Regions from separate parts of the Homo sapiens genome. Here regions 1 and 2 are each linked to region 3. Evidence: promoter capture Hi-C in 16 types of primary human blood cells and fetal thymus (Javierre and others, 2016). All regions are on one chromosome and are shown on one strand. The core of a region is centred on a gene start or on the middle of the fragment in contact, and the rest is flanking DNA. Distances in the headings are between cores, read along the strand shown. Region 1 overlaps MX1 (MX dynamin like GTPase 1). Region 2 overlaps MX1 (MX dynamin like GTPase 1). Region 3 holds the start of BACE2 (beta-secretase 2).

The links. The method cuts DNA at HindIII sites, captures the fragments that hold promoters and counts their contacts. A CHiCAGO score of 5 or more calls a contact.
Region 1: a fragment that was not itself captured here is called in contact with the fragment with the promoter of BACE2 in region 3 in 2 of 17 cell types (naive B cells and total B cells); the score reaches 5.4 in naive B cells.
Region 2: a contact is called between a fragment that was not itself captured here and the fragment with the promoter of BACE2 in region 3, in 1 of 17 cell types (total B cells). The highest score is 5.9, in total B cells.

The regions. Positions count from the first base shown.
Region 1 is chr21:41,444,560-41,447,628 of GRCh38, forward strand. MX1 (MX dynamin like GTPase 1) reads left to right here. Exons shown (of 17, transcript NM_002462.5): 12 at 889-1,011; 13 at 1,441-1,582. Among named protein-coding and RNA genes, the nearest start is that of MX1, 20 kb to the left of the region's middle. The HindIII fragment of the contact is 1,035 bases long and covers 758-1,792 here.
Region 2 is chr21:41,426,850-41,429,558 of GRCh38, forward strand. It overlaps MX1 (MX dynamin like GTPase 1), which reads left to right. Exons shown (of 17, transcript NM_002462.5): 2 at 357-455; 3 at 906-1,017. Among named protein-coding and RNA genes, the nearest start is that of MX1, 2.0 kb to the left of the region's middle. The HindIII fragment of the contact is 848 bases long and covers 844-1,691 here.
Region 3 is chr21:41,166,777-41,169,484 of GRCh38, forward strand. BACE2 (beta-secretase 2) reads left to right here and starts at 1,384. Exons shown (of 9, transcript NM_012105.5): 1 at 1,384-1,799. The coding sequence starts at 1,488. MIR3197 (microRNA 3197) reads left to right here and starts at 781; the gene lies at 781-853. RefSeq lists a silencer at 943-1,392. The HindIII fragment of the contact is 3,467 bases long and covers 1-2,708 here.

The sequences.
Region 1 (3,069 bases), core at 25-2,524, 280 kb after region 3:
ACTCAGCACCAGAGTGCAAGGTCTTCCACGTGGTCCCCAGGAATGCGGGTGCATAACAGGGTTGTTTCCAGCCGACCATGATGAGTGCAGAGCTCTCTGGGGTCCCACTGTATGCAGAAAGAGGATGCTTCCTTATTAGATTCCCCACCTCGAGCAAGCCCATGGGGATTGATTTTTTGCCTCTGCACCAAGTCAGGTTCATAAGTTCCCGTTCGAATTTTCTTACCTAGACAGATGCCCTTGTGGCTGAGCCGGGCTTCATTGCTGCCTTCTCCTTGAGCCCCTGCCTGGCCACTGTTACTGGGGCTGGCCTCTGACTACCCCTCACTAACTTGTGAGTCCACCGATACATTTAAAGGTGCAGCTTTCACATGTCAGCTGGCATTTTTAGATGTTTGCCGTGGAAGGGTGAGCCAGCATATGGCGTCAACCGTATTGTTAAAAACATAAGTCTCTGATCACTTTTTATTGATTGCAAGCAACATAAAAGTTGTTGAATCTCAAATTGCTCCAAATGCCACTTTTTCAGAACCTACTAGACAAGTGGATCTCTCCAGTCTCCCTCCAGAGAGTTTACCTAATATGACCACAGAGGAACTGCTCCCGGGTCACTCTGCCGGGGCCTAGGACCCATGCACAGTGGGTGCCACAGTGCTGCTCATGAGGCTGCTGTCGCAGGAGTGGGGAAGGGGGAAGACCTGGGCAGAAAACAGTGCCCCCAGTGTGTGCCCCCCTGCACCTCCCCCGGGTCTGGAAAAGCTTCCTTTTAGAGGAAGCCAGGAAGTCAAATGGCCCACACAACTCCTCTGCAGAGGGAGGCCCGGGACCTCCTTTTCATTCTCTGTTCATCTTTACACATTTCCATTATTTTCTCTCCATTTTCCTCAGAAATCTCTGCCCCTGTTAGAAAATCAAATCAAGGAGACTCACCAGAGAATAACAGAGGAGCTACAAAAGTATGGTGTCGACATACCGGAAGACGAAAATGAAAAAATGTTCTTCCTGATAGATGTGAGTGTTGCCAGCTGCATGGAGCTGGAGAAGCACATGTCATGGTCAAAAAAGGGACCCTGGGCCTTATGCACTTCCTTCTTCACTCCCCCAAGGCTGATCCAAAGACATCTGGCCCGTAGCACTCAAAGGGTGGACAGGGCTGAGGGAGGCAGGGCAGGGAGTGCAGATGTGGGGGTGGAGTCAGCAGCGAGGGATGCTCAGGCTGCGTTGTGCCTACTCTGTCACGAGCATCACCCAGATCCCTAAGGCAGTAAGGGGTGGGATAGGATTTTCTAGTGCCAAAACCTCTTCTTTCCCCTGATCCACAGTGTCCCATAAGAAAGCAAAGAATGACTCCCCACCCTCCACATAGGCACGGCCTCCAAATGACCTTGACACTTGGATTTGAAGTCTATCCACTTATACTGATGTTTTTCTTCTTGACAGAAAGTTAATGCCTTTAATCAGGACATCACTGCTCTCATGCAAGGAGAGGAAACTGTAGGGGAGGAAGACATTCGGCTGTTTACCAGACTCCGACACGAGTTCCACAAATGGAGTACAATAATTGAAAACAATTTTCAAGAAGGTGAGTGTCTTAGTCCCTTCTTTTGGGCTGCTACAACCGAATACCTGAGACTGGGTCATTTATAAACAGTAGAAACTTATTGCTCATTGTTCTGGAGGTGAGAAATCTATTCTTAAGGAATCAGGAAATTTGGTGTCTGGTGAGAGCTTGTTCTCTGCTTCAAAGATGGCACCTTCTAGCTGTGTCCTCTCATGGGATAAGGGACGAACAAGCTTCCTCGGACCTCTTTTTTACAGGGGTACCACAGGCATACCTCAGAGATATTGTGGGTTCAGTTCCAGACAAAAAGAATATTGCAATAATGCAAGTCATATAAACTTCTTGGTTCCTGGTGCATAAACAGTTCATTTATGCCCTACTGCAGTCTATTAAGTATGTAATAGCATTAGGCCTAAAAAATATGTATGTACCTTAGTTTAAAACACCTTATTGCTAAAAAATTGCTGGTACAGAAACAAAAAGTGAGCATGTGCTACTGGAAAAAAATGGTGCTGATTTGCTTGACATGGGATTGCCACAGACTTTCAATTTGTAAAAAATACGGTATCAGTGAAGTGCAATAAAACAAGATATGCCTGGAATGCCATTATGCGGGCAGAGTGCTCATAACCCAATCCTTCCTAAAGGTCTCCTCTGTTGATACCATCACACTGGGGATTAAGTTTCAACATAGGAATTTTTAGGGGACACCAACATGTAGACCATAGCAATGAGTCAATACCGTGGTAAACCTGATACGTTGGCTTAAGACAGAGAAGAGTGGGGCAGTTGGGGAGGATGGTCAGGATAAGGAGCTAGTGACAACTAAAGCCATGTTTGCTCTCTTCTATATCACTGAACCCAAATGACCATCCACTGATGAATTGATAAACCAACTGGCTTGTGTCTGTGTGTAGCGGTTGGCTTTGGCTGTCATAACAAAGTACCACAGACTTGGGGGGGCTTAAACAGTAGAAATTTATTTTCTTACAGTTCTGGAGGCTGGAAGTCCAAGATCAAGATGTTGGTGGAGCTGGTTCCTTCTAAGGCCTCTCTCCTTGCCTTGCAGATGGCCTCTTCTCATTGGGTCCTCATGTGGTTGTCCCTCAGTGTGTGTGTCCTCATCTCCTCCCACAAGGACACTAGGCAGATGGGATGAGGGCCCACCCTAGTGACCTGATTTCAATTTAATTACCTCTTTGCCTGTCTCCAAACACAGTCAGATTCTGAGTTTCTGAGGGTTAGGACTTCAACATTGGAGTTTGAAGAGGTCACAACTCAAGCTCAGCCCGTAACACCAAGTCCTGGAATATTTCCAGCCACAGACAGGCACAGAGTGCTGGTCCACAGCACCCCATGGATGAACCTTGAAAATGTCATGCTGAGTGAAAGAAGCCAGCCACAAAGGCCACACGGTCTATGATTCCATTGATAGAAAATGGCTAGAACAGGCAAACCCAGGCAGGCAGAAAGCAGAATAGTGGCTGCCAGGGGCTGGGGAGGGAAAA
Region 2 (2,709 bases), core at 18-2,517, 260 kb after region 3:
CCACCGCCCCAGTGGATGCCATGCCTGGGGCCTCCCCGGCGCGTGGGGCTGACGCACCCTCGGGGTCCATCGTAGTTGGCCGGGATCGTGGAGTGGGTGCGGTGGACGAAGGGAGGCAGGACAGTCCCGGGGGTGGCAGAAGGAGCCCGGGCACAGCTGAGACCTGCGCTCCCATCCCACCAACACTCACAGCAGGTGCTGCCGAGCTGGGCAATTGGGATGGCCCAAGTTATTTGGTTAAATTTTAAATCACGTTTGTTACTGGGAAGTAGAGTCCAGTGATGCTAACCGCGCCTCTACCTCCACCACCGGTGTCAGTCCCAAAGGGCTCCTAAAATGGCTGTGTCATCTTTCAGCCTTGGACCGCAGTTGCCGGCCAGGAATCCCAGTGTCACGGTGGACACGCCTCCCTCGCGCCCTTGCCGCCCACCTGCTCACCCAGCTCAGGGGCTTTGGTAGGTAGCAGTGCATTTGGTCTAAAGGGCAAGATGTTCTCTCTTTTATTCATAACAAATTTAAATACCAGCAGGGTTTGGGGGGAAAAACGCTTTCAGAAGAAAAGGTGAATGTCAGTCCTGCAAGAGTTAGTTTTAAAACTAGACTGAATTGGCACATGTATACCTATGTAACAAACCTGCACGTTCTGCACATGTACCCCAGAACTTAAAAGCTTATAAAAAAAGAAAAAACTAGACTGGATTATGTTGGGAAAGTGTAGCCTCTTCCATCTTAGGCATTTCCTAGAACGTAGGCAGTAGGTGGTCCTTATTAGGAGTTTTGGGAGAGGAAGGGGGCTGAATCCTACCTCCCATCCCTGCTCCTCTATGGGGTCTGAGCTGAGGAAGCTTCACCACAAGGAGAGAACCCCCTGACAACCCTGGATGCCACCTTTACCCTCACTGCAGGAATTCTGTGGCCACACTGCGAGGAGATCGGTTCTGGGTCGGAGGCTACAGGAAGACTCCCACTCCCTGAAATCTGGAGTGAAGAACGCCGCCATCCAGCCACCATTCCAAGGTAAGGCAGAAATGAAGTGGGCCGTTGGGTTCTTTCTTTTCTTTCTTTCTTTTTTTTGAGACAAGGTCTCACTCTGTCGCCCAGGCTGGAGTGCAGTGGCGCCATCTCAGCTCACTGCAACCCCCGCCTCCCAGGTTCAAGCGATTCTGGTGCCTCAGTCTCCTGAGTAGCTGGGATTACAGGCACACATCACCACACCTGGCTAATTTGTATGTGTTTAGTAGAGACAGCATTTCACCATATTGGCCAGGCTGGTTTCAAACTCCTGGCCTCAAATGATCCACCCGCCTTGGCTTCCCAAAGTACTGGGATTACAGGCACGAGCCACTGCACCCAGTCAGGTTCATTTTAGTTGTTATGTTAACCAGGTTTCCTGCACCTGTGCGCTAACTTTCACTTTCCCAAAAGGTTTCAGGGTGACCCAGCAGGCAATGAGTGATTCTCAAATTCAGGATTTATTGTGAGAGATTCACACACACAATTGAGCAGACATTCACAGTACAATGATTAAAGGGAGTGATAGGGTAAGGACCCACAGTGGAGGCTCTGGAGGCCAGCCCACTGACAGCCACTCCAGGGAGTCCAGAAGTCCCGCTCTAGTGCTGGGTGGTGGAGGGAAATCTGTTCCTCCAGGGACCTCGTCCTCGGCTGCCCAGCTGCCAAAGTCAGGAATAAGCTTTCAGAAATCTCACTGCCAAGATTCCGAAAACGCTTCAGACATTGCTAGTCCCTTGTCGCTTTTGCGATCCTCCACAGGTGTGCGTGCCACTGGGTCCTTATTCACTGGGGTCTCTGGTGGCATTGGGCCACAGCAAGTGTTCCCTCATCCCCTTAGTCTACCACACACATGCTTACCACTTTGAAGAAAAACCCCTTTACTATGAGCGAAAGTGAGAAACACGTATGTTTATTGTTTCTAAAGAAAGAAACTTAATATGGGCTTAATGCTACCTAGTGAGTGCCTCCATTTTGAGACATTAGGGTCACAAGTCATTATTATATATCATGGGCACAAACCTGCCCTGGGCAGGGACGGAAGGAAGCCCCTGCACAGGGGCAGTTGCTCAGGATGTGAGAAGAGCCTGGTGCATAACCCCATCCATGCCCACCTAACATCTCAGGCTCTGACCAGTGGGGCTGTGCAGTAGCGAGTGGATGGAGGGCTGGAACCCTGCAGCCTCCTCTCCAAACACAGGGTGCAGCCAAGACATTTTAGGAGCAATTTGGGATGGAGAGCTAGGAGTCGCCACCTCTTGGCTCTTCCAAGGCCGGAACTGGTGCCTGCACTCAGTTCAGTTTGAAGACTGCAGCTGGATGCCAAGTTCCATGGAGGAGTAAGAAACCGGTTTGAACTCCCGAGATTGCCCTGCCCCTGAAATCCAAACTGATGTTCCGAATGATCAGGGAAAGGTACAAACGTTTATGGTTTACAGACAAAACCCATAAGGTTTAGCTTTCAGAGAATCTCATTTTATGAAGCAAATTAGGGAAGGGAATCTACTCACCAAGTCCTGTTTCAGCTGATTGAGTGGAACCTGTGGTCATGTGGTACAAGTCCTGGTCTCAATGATGCTCCTTATCTGGCTGCAGAAAGGCCAACTGAGGCAACCATAGCCCAGAAGACTGGTACTCCTGAGAGGCAGATGAAGTGGTGGTCTTTGATATCGAGCCTGGGATGCCCTGGGCACATGA
Region 3 (2,708 bases), core at 134-2,633:
CCACTGTTTGAAGATGGGCTTGTTTGTTTTTTAAAACAGCCAACATAATTCAGCTGGAGGAGGTACAAAGAATTTTCTATTCCTTGTTTCTGTAGAAATCGATGGACTTTAGCTTGTCTAATTGTCCCCCCTGCCTTTAGTATCTAAAATAAAATAACCCTCGTTGCTTGCATTACTCAACGCATTTCTGCGTCTTGGCGTCTATGGCTAAACGAGTATTAATTAGACAGTCCGCAGAGAGCTGGCTGGGGATAGAAGGGGAGGTGGGGGAGAAGGGCAGGGATCACAGCAGGGTGGACTCGTGGCCCTGATTTGGGATCCTGACAGCAACTTACTAGGTGGCCTGAGGGCTGGGTGCCAGGGGAGGCAGCGGGTTCCAGTAGCATCTGACCTGCATTAGGGACAGGGGCGCGGCGGAGGGGGCGAAGGGGGCGGGGGTGGGGGGAAGGTGGCTGGGGTGAAGCCCAGCTTCGCAGCTAGCTGTGGGCAACAGAGGGAGTAAGGGGGGGCAATGAGGCTGGGGCCAGGCGCCAGCAGCAGCCACGCCCCCCACCTCCCCCGATTTTTAGGGAAAATTCTCCAAAGCTCTCGCATCCTCCTCTGCCTCCTTCCACCCTCCACCCTCCCAGCCTCCACTGAGACCTCTTTAAAACCACCCAGGGGCCGCCGGGGGATGAGGCCGGGGAACGGGCTGGACTGAGGGCGGGGGCTCGGGGGCAGCGGACGGGAAACGCCTCGAAAGCAGCCAGACCCGGCGACTGAAATGAGGCGGAGGAGCTTGGCGAGGGGAGGCGCAGGCTCGGAAAGGCGCGCGAGGCTCCAGGCTCCTTCCCGATCCACCGCTCTCCTCGCTGACCTCCGAGTCACCCCCGGAAGCTCCCGCCACTGCCGGGCGAATAGACCCCCGCGGACCCCCAAGCGCGCGGGGCCGGGGCCCTAGTTCAGGCCCTCGCTGCCCCTTTAAGGGTTCTCGAAACTTTCCCCCCGGTATCAGATGAGCCTCGTCACATCCGTTGGCCGTGGCCGCTGGGGCGCTTTCCGAGGAAATTCGGGACTCGAGTTTCCCGGGGAAGAGGCGCGGCCTGAGCCCGGCGAGGGTGGGGAGGGCAGGCGCAGGTGGACCCCGGCGCCCCCCGAGCCCCGCTGTGACCTTGGCCGCGGGGGAGGGGCTGGGCCGCTGCGGGGCAGTCGCGGCCGCCAGAGGGGGCAGCGGAGAAGAACTTGCCCAACTTGGCGGCGCGGGCTGGGGCGGCTCTGCGCCTCCGCGCCCGCCTCCCCGGCCTCCGCCTTCTCCCCTCCCGCGAGCCTCCTCCCCTCCCGCGAGCCTCCTCCCCTGGGCCCTCCTCCCGTCCTCCCCGCCGCCGCCGGTCCCGGTGCGCGCCCATCCCTGCCCGCAGCCCCGCGCGCCGGCCGAGTCGCTGAGCCGCGGCTGCCGGACGGGACGGGACCGGCTAGGCTGGGCGCGCCCCCCGGGCCCCGCCGTGGGCATGGGCGCACTGGCCCGGGCGCTGCTGCTGCCTCTGCTGGCCCAGTGGCTCCTGCGCGCCGCCCCGGAGCTGGCCCCCGCGCCCTTCACGCTGCCCCTCCGGGTGGCCGCGGCCACGAACCGCGTAGTTGCGCCCACCCCGGGACCCGGGACCCCTGCCGAGCGCCACGCCGACGGCTTGGCGCTCGCCCTGGAGCCTGCCCTGGCGTCCCCCGCGGGCGCCGCCAACTTCTTGGCCATGGTAGACAACCTGCAGGGGGACTCTGGCCGCGGCTACTACCTGGAGATGCTGATCGGGACCCCCCCGCAGAAGGTAGGGACCCCCGGCTGCTGCCGCGGGCTTTTCGGGCTCGTTGGAGGGAGGGGGCTGTCCAGAGACGCCTCCACGCGGCTTAGCGTCGCCCCCAAAGCAGCAGCTGTCCCCGCACAGAAGAGCGGGGAACGCAGAGGGGCTCGGGTGGGCCGGGGAGCGGGGGCGCTCGCTCTTGAGTCGCGGAGGACGGCAGCCCCCGCCCGGGGCGCACTGAGGGGTGTGCGCGAGTGTTTCAGAACTTGTGAGCTCCCCCTCCGCGGGGCTGGGCGGGAGAGGAGACCTGGAACTTGCCGCCTCCAATAACGTGATTTCCTTCTTGCGGGCGACACCTACTTCCAGCGGGAGACGGAGCGGTGGGCCTTGGGCGACGGGCTATTATGGGGAAAATCACCTCGTGTTCATACCCTCCCTCCCCCCCGCCCCCCCCCCACCCCACCACCATGCTGTCTCATTGCTAAAGAGGCTCGTGGCCGGCTTCCAAAGGCGCAGTACCCTTTAAAAAGGATTTATGCATGAGCTCAGCTAAAAGCAACCCGGTTAAGAAGTGGCTCGCTTGCTGCTCTGAGGAAGGAGCAGCGTCTCCCCTGCGCCCGCTTTCCTTTCTCGGAGTTGGTTTGTCAGCTGTGTCCTCGCTCATCCGGCGGCCCTGCCCCTCTGCACGGAGCGATGCATCTACACGCGGGTGTGCAGAGTGTGAAAAGCATTCCAGCTACCGGGAAAAAAACAGGGGCTGAGTGAGGTGTCCGGGGACCAAGTGGTATCCCGATTACAACACAAAAATAAAATCAAACAGCTTTCCTTTTCTCTTACTCTGATGTTCATTTACTAACACTTTTTGTAGCAAGAAACAAATGTTCCCAAGCACAGTGATCTGAAAAAAAAAAAAAAAAAATCCCAATTGATCTGCCC